Linked DNA regions of Homo sapiens: regions 1 and 2 are each linked to region 3. The links are contacts of gene promoters, found by promoter capture Hi-C in blood cells and fetal thymus (Javierre and others, 2016). All regions are on one chromosome and are shown on one strand. The core of a region is centred on a gene start or on the middle of the fragment in contact, and the rest is flanking DNA. Distances in the headings are between cores, read along the strand shown. Region 1 overlaps NUP133 (nucleoporin 133). Region 2 overlaps NUP133 (nucleoporin 133). Region 3 holds the start of CCSAP (centriole, cilia and spindle associated protein).

Region 1 (3,042 bases), core at 149-2,648, 160 kb before region 3:
TGAAAACGTTTGGATCTTCTCTTCCTGTTAAAGTCATGGAAGCCCTAACATTGGCTGAAGGTAGGTGTCATCTTTCCATTTACCTATATTAGCAGTTTAAAATGGAGCCTAGATGTGGCATAGAGATTAAATTTATGTTTTCTCTAGTATACCTTTACGTAAATGGTGAGAGATGGGTGGCCTGTCTAGTGTTTTTTTATTTTTATTTTTTCGAGACAGAGTCTCACTCTGTCACCCAGGCTGGAGTGCAGTGGTGTGATCTCAGCTCACTGCAACCACCACCTCCCAGGTTCAAGCGAGTTTCCTGCCTCAGCCTCCCAAGTAGCTGGGATTATAGGTGTGAGCCACCACGCCCAGCTAATTTTTTGTATTTTTAGTAGAGACAGGGTTTCACCATGTTGGCCAGGCTGGTCTTGAACTCCTGACCTCAGGTGATCTGCCCTCCTTGGCCTCCCAAAGTGCTGGGATTACAGGCGTGAGCCACCACATCTGGCCACCTGTCTTAGTTTTTTTTTTTTTTTTTTTTTTTTTTTTTAACTGTAATTGAGATGTATAATACATTCGAGAAGGAGAATGAGTTCATTTGAACACAATCAAATTAAGTCTTTAATGGTTTTAGGTACTGTACAGTAGTCCCCCATTATCTTTGGGGGATATCTTCCAGGATCCCCAGTGGATGCCTGAAACCTTGTATAGTACTAAACCTTATATATACTGTGTTTTTTTAATACATACACACCTATGATAAACTTTAGTTTATAAATTAGGAACAGTAAAGATGAACAACAGTAATAATAAAGTAGAACAATTATAACAATATACCAGCAGCACTACTCTTGTACTTCGTTTGGGGTCATTAACTAAAATGAGAATATAAGCATTGCATTACTGCGACAGTTCATCTGGTAACTGAGACAGCTACTAAGTGACAAACAGCTGGATAGTCTCAGGGGTGTCCAATCTTTTGGCTTCCCTGGGCCACTTGGAAGAAGAATTGTCTTGGGTCACACATAAAATACACTTACGATAGCTGATGAGCTAAAAATAAATAATGAAAAGGTCTGTGTATAAATCTTATCATGTTTTAAGAAAGTTTACAAACTTGTGTTGGACCGCATTCAAAGCTGTCCTGGGCCACACGTGTCCCTGGGCCATGGGTTGGACAAGCTTGGGGTATACAGTATGGATATGCTGCACAAAGGGTTGATTCACAACCTTTAGGCAGGACAGTATGAGATTTTATCACTTTACCCAGAACAGCATGCAATTTACAACTTAGGAATTGTTCATTTGAATTTTCCATTTAATATTTTCAGACTACGATTGACCACAGGTATTTGAAACTGCAGATAAAAGGGGGAAATACTGTATATGCAAAATTCAGTCCTGTTTACAGAGTTGATCAGGTTTATGAAGTTTCCCGTGAAACCCCAAAACTGGCACCTCATGTTATTGGGTTTAATAATACAGTAAAATCAAGTCCTACCTCCATTTCTGGATCCTATGTAGCATCCCAGAGGCTGTGTGCACAAATTTATGACGTTACCATTGTCGTGGTGTACCTTTAGAAGCGTCTGTTGGTGGAGAATTAGTGTGGAATTTTGACAGATACAATCAACACAAGCTTAGAAAGGCAACTTTAAAGATGAGCAGTTGGATGACACTGGAAGAGCAAAGTTCAGAGCAGCCTTAATATCTGCTGAAGTCATTTTTATTAAGGCTTGAATTCTAGATCTTTGTGATTTTTCTGGAACAGTATTTTTCAAATTGTAGGGGTGACCAAAATTTAGCGGTTCTTGACCAGCATTTAAAAAAAGAAGAAATAGAATGCATCTCATATGTTTAGTAAATTTTGTTCGTTTTACTTAAATTGTATATGGGTGTATCGTGATGTAAAATGTATTATACTGTGAATAACTCTATTTACTGTATAACTTAATAACAGTAAAAAAAAAATGCTGAAATTACTCTGTTTTAGAAGAAGGAATATATCTCATCAACTGGAACTTGGCACATCTTGCCTGTAGGTCCTTGGGAGCTTTAGGGATAGTTGTTTTCAGACAACTACTAACCTTTCTATACATTGTTCTGTTTTAAATAAATAAATGTATATATATATATTGGTATATATGTGTATATTTTTCCCCTCTAAAAATTTCAGTTTACATTTAAACCTTTTAATGTACTACTCATATTTTAACAGACTAGATTAAATAACACAGCCCCAAATCTAGAAATTCAGAGAGTCCTTAGAAATTAGGATATATAAAACAAAGAGGTGTGTCAACTTGAAGAACTCTTCCCCACTTAGAAACCTGCCAACTACTGTTAAGTCAGCCCTTAAAGGCACACCGGTCGAGGATCTGGAGTTGTAGTGCTTTCAAGAAAAAGAAAATTACTGAGCAGATAGTTCAGTTGAGCAAAAAGCCTCACTCAGCCTGGGCTTGGTTTGATATTTTTGCTTGTACATTGTCTATGCCTTTTACTTCACCCTTCTACCTTTCTGTAAGTAAAGAGCAAAGCTCAACTTAATAAAATTTCCAGGGCTGTTAACACATTTGTGGAGGTTTACCACCAATACTTAAGATATGTGCTAATTTAGTTTTGTCACTTAATAGAGAACGTAACTCTTTGTCTCCATGTACTAAATAATTTATCATTCCTTTAAGGAGCTCTTATTTGAAAATTATGTGCTTTTGGTCCTCCAAAAGCACATTGTTTTCCTTGAAATGTTTTATATAGTTAATGAGTTTGTTATTTGTTTTACTTTATCGATATAATTATAAATGTTGCTAAATATTTCTTTTTTGTTTGTTTGTTTTGAGACAGAGTCTTGCTCTGTTGCCCAGGCTGGAGTGCAGTGGCGCGATCTCAGCTCAATGCAACCTCTGCCTCCCAGGTTCAAGTAATTCTCCTGCCTCAGCCTCCCGAGTAGCTAGGATTACAGGTGCACGCCACCATGCCCCCATGCCTGGCTAATTTTTTTTTCTATTTTTGGTAGAGATGGGGTTTCATCATGTTGGCCAGGCTGGTCTCGAACTC
Region 2 (2,700 bases), core at 72-2,571, 130 kb before region 3:
CACAGCATGTTTTCAACCAAATGCGGATCAGAAATTCACTTGCTTATGCAGAAGGTCGCCTTTTTGTATGCTGGAGCTCCACAGAGCCAGCTGCAGGACTTGAATATGGGTGGATTTTGGTGTATGTTGGGGGTCCTGTAACTAATCCCCTGTGTATACTGAGAGATGACTGTACTGTAATAAAAATATGTGAGTGTGGTTGGTCTCTCTCTCTCTCTCTGTCTCTGTCATCTGTTTTCAGACTGCAGTTGACTGCAGGTAACTGTGACTGTGGGAAGTGAAACCATGAATAAGAGGGGACTACTGTACATCAGATCCAGCAGTAACCTAACTGGATTTTTCTCTTTCCTGTCTTTTCCTTTCTGCAGTAACCTCCTAACTGGATTTTTCTCTTGTCTGATCTGACATCTGATCCCCTCTCCATATGATAGAGCAATCTTTTGGGACACTGGAACAGACTGTGACACTCCTTTACAGTGCCTGTCCATTGTCCTTGGTATTAGGTTCAAACCCCATAACATGGTTTACAAGACCGTGTCCTCTAATTTTGTGATTCATCCCTTCTCAGTATCCCTCGTTTCTTCATGTGTGCCATAGTTAATCCCCTGGTGGGTTCATTGACACCCTAGTTGTCCCCTAATCTCTCTAAGTTAGAAGAGTCTGCTGCTTTTTATGGGCTTACCCTTCCTTTAATTGGTTATCCTGCAAGTTTTTTCCAAACTCTTGCTCCCTGGGTGATCTCAGCCTCTCCCGTAGCCTCAGTTCTCTCCTGAGATAGAGGCTTACTTGCGGACGGATGTGGATGTATGTTCTGTGTGCAGCTGTATACCCCTCCCCCAGTTCTCCCCAGCCTTCCATGACCTCCTCTTTACCTGTTAGGAAGTTTTCCCTGTCTCTCTCGGTGTTTATCACCTGTGTCATTGCTTGCTCAATTGTCTGGACTATTTTTAAGTCTTTTTATCTTTCTGTGTCCAGAGCCGAGCATGTTCTAAGTATTCAATGTGTATTTATTGAATTAATGAATGGATAATAGTTTTCTCCCTTTTAATTAAATAAATTTTATTAAAAGTAACTTTGAGCCAAAACCTATAAATGGTTTTTAGGTTACATTTAACTTCACAATTAACTTAAAATTTTTTTTTTATTTTTATGGGTACATAGTAGGTGTATACGTTTGTGGGGTACATGAGATATTTTCATACGGGCATACAATGCGTAATAATCACATCAGGGTAAATGGGATATCCGTCACCTCAAGCATTCATCTTTTTTGTATGTTGTGAACATTCTAATTATGCTCTTAGTTACTTTAAAATGTACACTAAATTATTGAACATGTAAAGTTTGTTACATGTCTTTCGTGCCTGACTTATTTCACTTAACATGTCCTCCAGTTCCATCCCTACTGTTGCGAATGACAGGATCGCATTCTTTTTTTTGGCTGAATAGTAGTCCATAATTAATTTTTTCTTGGTGAGTTTTGAAAATATTTTGCCTCCCTTAATACTTGTGTTTTCCAATTTTATTTCAGAAAAGATTTAGGTCATGCTCAAATGGTGGTTGATGAGCTCTTTTCCTCTCACTCTGATTTGGATTCTGATTCTGAACTAGACAGGGCAGTTACCCAAATCAGTGTAGACCTGATGGATGACTACCCAGCATCTGACCCACGGTGGGCTGAGTCTGTCCCTGAGGGTAAGAATGTTTCAATTATGGAACGGTGTGTTTTGAACATATTCTGGTTTCTTTATTAGAAGCATCTCTTAAAGCATATTTTTTAGCTTCTCAAACAATTTAATATTAATTCAATATTTTTTAAAATATTGTGACCTTCCTTTTTTTTTTTTTTTTTGAGACAGAGCAAGGCTCTGTCACCCAGGCTGGAGTGCAGTGGCGCGATCTTGGCTCACTGCAAGCTCCACCTCCCAGGTTCACGCCATTCTCCTGCCTCAGCCTCCCGAGTAGCTGGGACTACAGGTGCCCGCCACCATGGCTGGCTAATTTTTTTGTATTTTTGGTAGAGACGGGGTTTCACTGTGTTAGCCAGGTTGGTCTTGATCTCCTGACCTCGTGATCCACCCACCTCGGCCTCCCAAAGTGCTGGGATTACAGGTGTGAGCCACCAGGCCCGGCCAGGTAACCTTCCTTATAGTATGTTTTGAAAAAGGGTCAGAACAGGTCTAGATAACAGAATGGAAACTAAAGGAACATTGGAGCAAATCCTAATTGTTCTATCCAAGGCAGATTAATTGCCTTACTTAGCTTTCCTGGCTTTTATTTCTAAAAGAAAATTGGTTGCATAGGTAGACAGTTGGCACTTACCTGCCCCCCAATCCCAGTTTTTTTTTTTGTTTTTTTTTTTTGGAAACAGGGTCTCCCTTACTTTGTCACCCAGACTGGAATGCAGTGGCACGATCTCAGCTAACTGCAACCTCCACCTCCTGGGTTCAAGTGATACTCCCACCTCAGCCTCCTGAGTAGCTGAGATTACAGGTGTGCACCACCATGCCCAGCTAATTTTTGTATTTTTAGTAGAGATGTAGTTTTACCATGTTGGCCAGGCTGGTCTTGAACTCCTGACCTCAGGTGGTCCACCCGCTTTGATCTCCCAAAGTGCTGGGATTTCAGGTGTAAGCCACCACACCCAGCCTACTTACCCCCAAATTAAATGATAATTTTGGCATAATCAGTATATTTGAC
Region 3 (2,918 bases), core at 12-2,511:
GATGCGGACACGTAGAAAGTAGGTGAATTCGTGGGAATCCTGACGTGGAAGCCGTGAGCGCTACTCACGGCCTGGGCTTGCTTTTTAACTGCTATATATATATTTAGATTTTCCAAAAGTTTTTTCCTTTCAAATCTTTTTGCAGCTACTGTATCAAGGCTCTTTTTTTAAGAAAGGGAAAATAGTGCAGGACCACTTCTGAAACTGTAACAAATGGGGCAACGTTGTATTCTTCTGTACAATGTAACTGGATCTGTGAAGGTTTTTATTTTTTATTTTTTATTTTTTTTGAGACGGAGTCTTGCTCTGTCGCCCAGGCTGGAGTGCAGTGGCGCAATCTAGGCTCACTGCAAGCTCCGCCTCCCGGGTTCACGCCATTCTCCTGCCTCAGGCTCCCGAGTAGCTGGGACTACAGCCGTTCACCACCACGCCGGGCTAATTCTTTTTATTTTTATTTTTTTAGTAGAGATGGGGTTTCACTGTGTTAGCCAGGATGGTCTCGATCTCCTGACCTCGTGAGCCACCCGCCTCGGCCTCCCAAAATGCTGGGATTACAGGCGTGAGCCACAGCGCTCAGCCGGATCTGTGGAGGTTTTATGAGCAAAAAGGGAAAACAGTGCGGGGCCACTTTTGAAACTGTAACAAATGGGGCAACGTTGTATACTTCTGCACAAAGTAACTGGATCTGTGAAGGTTTTATGTGTAAAAAGGGAAAAGAGTGTGGGGCCACTTTTGAAACTGTAACAAATGGGACAACTTTGTATACTTCTGCACAACGTAAGTTAATCTGTCAAGCTTTTATGTGCAAACGAATCTCTGAGCGAGTGAAATGGTTTTGATCAAAATCTAAAAGAATTTGGGGAGTGTAGATATAAAAGGGAGTTAAAGCCAGAGTAACAGGTGTTGTGAACACAGAGAGGAAGAACCGGTAGGTTTCGAGTGAGGACAGAGAGTGTCGCCCCCGGCCGCAGCCTGGGGGGGCTGCATATCTGGAGGGATCATCTCTTGCCCCTAACTGACGACTCCTGCAGAGTGACGCGTGCCTGGGACAGCGTCTGCTGGGACCAGGGTGGACGGGCACCTCAAATAAGTGGGCCAGGGACCTGGGCCTGGGCCCCTCGGACTGGCAGGCACGCCCGCACCCCCGCGCCTCGCGCTCTCTACGGAAGCAGCCGCCCCCACGGAGCGGGCGGAGGCCCGGGGGCCGGGAGCGCGCGTGGAGGCTCCGGGACTGAGGCGGCGCCACCGCCTCCCGCCTGCAGCTGGAGCGCGGGCCGCCGCGGCGACATCTTGCTCAGGAGGAAAGCGCGCGGGAGAGCGAGCTGCGCTTTAGCTGCTGCGCCACGCGCGCCTCGGGCCTGGGCGCAGAGGATCGGCCGGGCGCGGCGGGAAGGAGGTAAGGCAGCCCCGCGGGACCGCACGCCTAGCTCAGGGGACGCCTCCGGAGACCCCAGGACCACCCGATCACGGGCCCCGCCGCTCCCCTCCCTCGCTCCTCCTCCCGCTCAGCCCCAGTCTCCTGCGGTCCCCTCGCCCCAGCCCGCAGCCTCCCTGCCTTCCGCCCACTGAGCAGCCCTCCTCGGCGGCGCGCCCCTCGACCCCAGCAGCCCCGGTCCCCGCCTCTGCTCTTGGTCCCGGCCGCCGGGTGAGGCCGCCCCCGCCCCGCCCCCTCCCCGCCCTCGCCGGGACCCGCCCCCTGCTCCCGTCCGGGCGGGGCTCCGGGTTTAAACGTCGCGGCGGGCAGGGCCGGCGGAGGGGCGGGGCGGCCTCTGTGTCGTGTACCGGGTCCCGTAGGCTGCGGGCAGCGAGGAGCGGCTGGCGCTCGAGGCGGCGGACGGCACCATGTCCCCGGGGAGCGGGGTGAAGAGCGAGTACATGAAGCGCTACCAGGAGCCGCGCTGGGAGGAGTACGGGCCGTGCTACCGCGAGCTGCTGCACTACCGCCTAGGCCGCCGGCTGCTGGAGCAGGCGCACGCGCCCTGGCTCTGGGACGACTGGGGCCCGGCCGGCTCCTCGGAGGACTCGGCGTCGTCAGAGTCGTCGGGCGCCGGGGGCCCCGCACCCCGGTGCGCCCCGCCCTCGCCCCCGCCGCCCGTAGAGCCGGCGACCCAGGAGGAGGCGGAACGGCGGGCGCGCGGGGCCCCGGAGGAGCAGGACGCGGAGGCCGGGGACGCGGAGGCCGAGGACGCGGAGGACGCGGCTCTGCCAGGTACCCGGCCCGGAGGGGAGCGCGAGGGGCCTGCACGCAGGGACGGTTTGCTCTAAGCTCTGAGCAGCTGATCTCTTATTTCTTGCGCCACTCGGGGCTGGCTCTTCCTTTTTTTTTTTTCGGTTGACAGAATCCGTCTCTCTTGACAAAATAGGGAAGGTGGCAGCCTTTGCCACCCTTTATTTCCTTAATTAGGTGGCTTTCGGTCGAGCCAGCGGTGAACTCAATTGAAGCGCCGCTGGCTGAGTCTGGGGTCTTTCCTCGCGGGCCTCTGCGGCTTGGCAAACCTCTGAATCCCATCTTATTTCTTGGCGAACCACTGAGTCCCATCTGCTTATTTCTAGGCGCCCATTTTTGATCAGAGGAGCCCCAGCTTTAATCAGATTCTCAAAGGTAACCCAAAAGGTTAAGAACCACAGAGCTAAGCTTTGTCTGATGAATGGGGCCATTGTTTTCCGTATTAACTCCCCGACCTCGCTACGCTGTCCCTAAAGAATATTTTGCATTTGTTTACGTGGAGTGTTGAATAACTTGGCTGTGAGAGCATCTTTATAAGTGCTAGGGCCTCTCCCCTTCCGTCCCTCCCCATCCTCCCTCGCCTGTCCAGATCCGAAAGCGCCGGTGGCGCTGCGCGTGTTTTCAAGGCATGGCCCCTTCACCTTCTTTCCTGCCCAGAGGCTTGCAGGGCTGGGGACCCAGTTGAACGCCT

Evidence for each region. The method cuts DNA at HindIII sites, captures the fragments that hold promoters and counts their contacts. A CHiCAGO score of 5 or more calls a contact.
Region 1: a fragment that was not itself captured here is called in contact with the fragment with the promoter of CCSAP in region 3 in 1 of 17 cell types (total CD8 T cells); the score reaches 5.8 in total CD8 T cells.
Region 2: a fragment that was not itself captured here is called in contact with the fragment with the promoter of CCSAP in region 3 in 3 of 17 cell types (total B cells, naive B cells and M2 macrophages); the score reaches 7.4 in total B cells.

What each region holds. Positions count from the first base shown.
Region 1 is chr1:229,503,058-229,506,099 of GRCh38, reverse strand. NUP133 (nucleoporin 133) reads left to right here. Exons shown (of 26, transcript NM_018230.3): 2 at 1-60. Among named protein-coding and RNA genes, the nearest start is that of NUP133, 3.8 kb to the left of the region's middle. The HindIII fragment of the contact is 457 bases long and covers 1,170-1,626 here.
Region 2 is chr1:229,476,592-229,479,291 of GRCh38, reverse strand. It overlaps NUP133 (nucleoporin 133), which reads left to right. Exons shown (of 26, transcript NM_018230.3): 13 at 1,532-1,695. Among named protein-coding and RNA genes, the nearest start is that of NUP133, 30 kb to the left of the region's middle. RefSeq lists a silencer at 192-301. The HindIII fragment of the contact is 3,349 bases long and covers 1-2,700 here.
Region 3 is chr1:229,341,390-229,344,307 of GRCh38, reverse strand. It overlaps CCSAP (centriole, cilia and spindle associated protein), which reads left to right and starts at 1,261. Exons shown (of 4, transcript NM_145257.5): 1 at 1,261-1,396; 2 at 1,795-2,209. The coding sequence starts at 1,843. RefSeq lists silencers at 1-106, 953-1,812, 2,013-2,212. The HindIII fragment of the contact is 1,840 bases long and covers 798-2,637 here.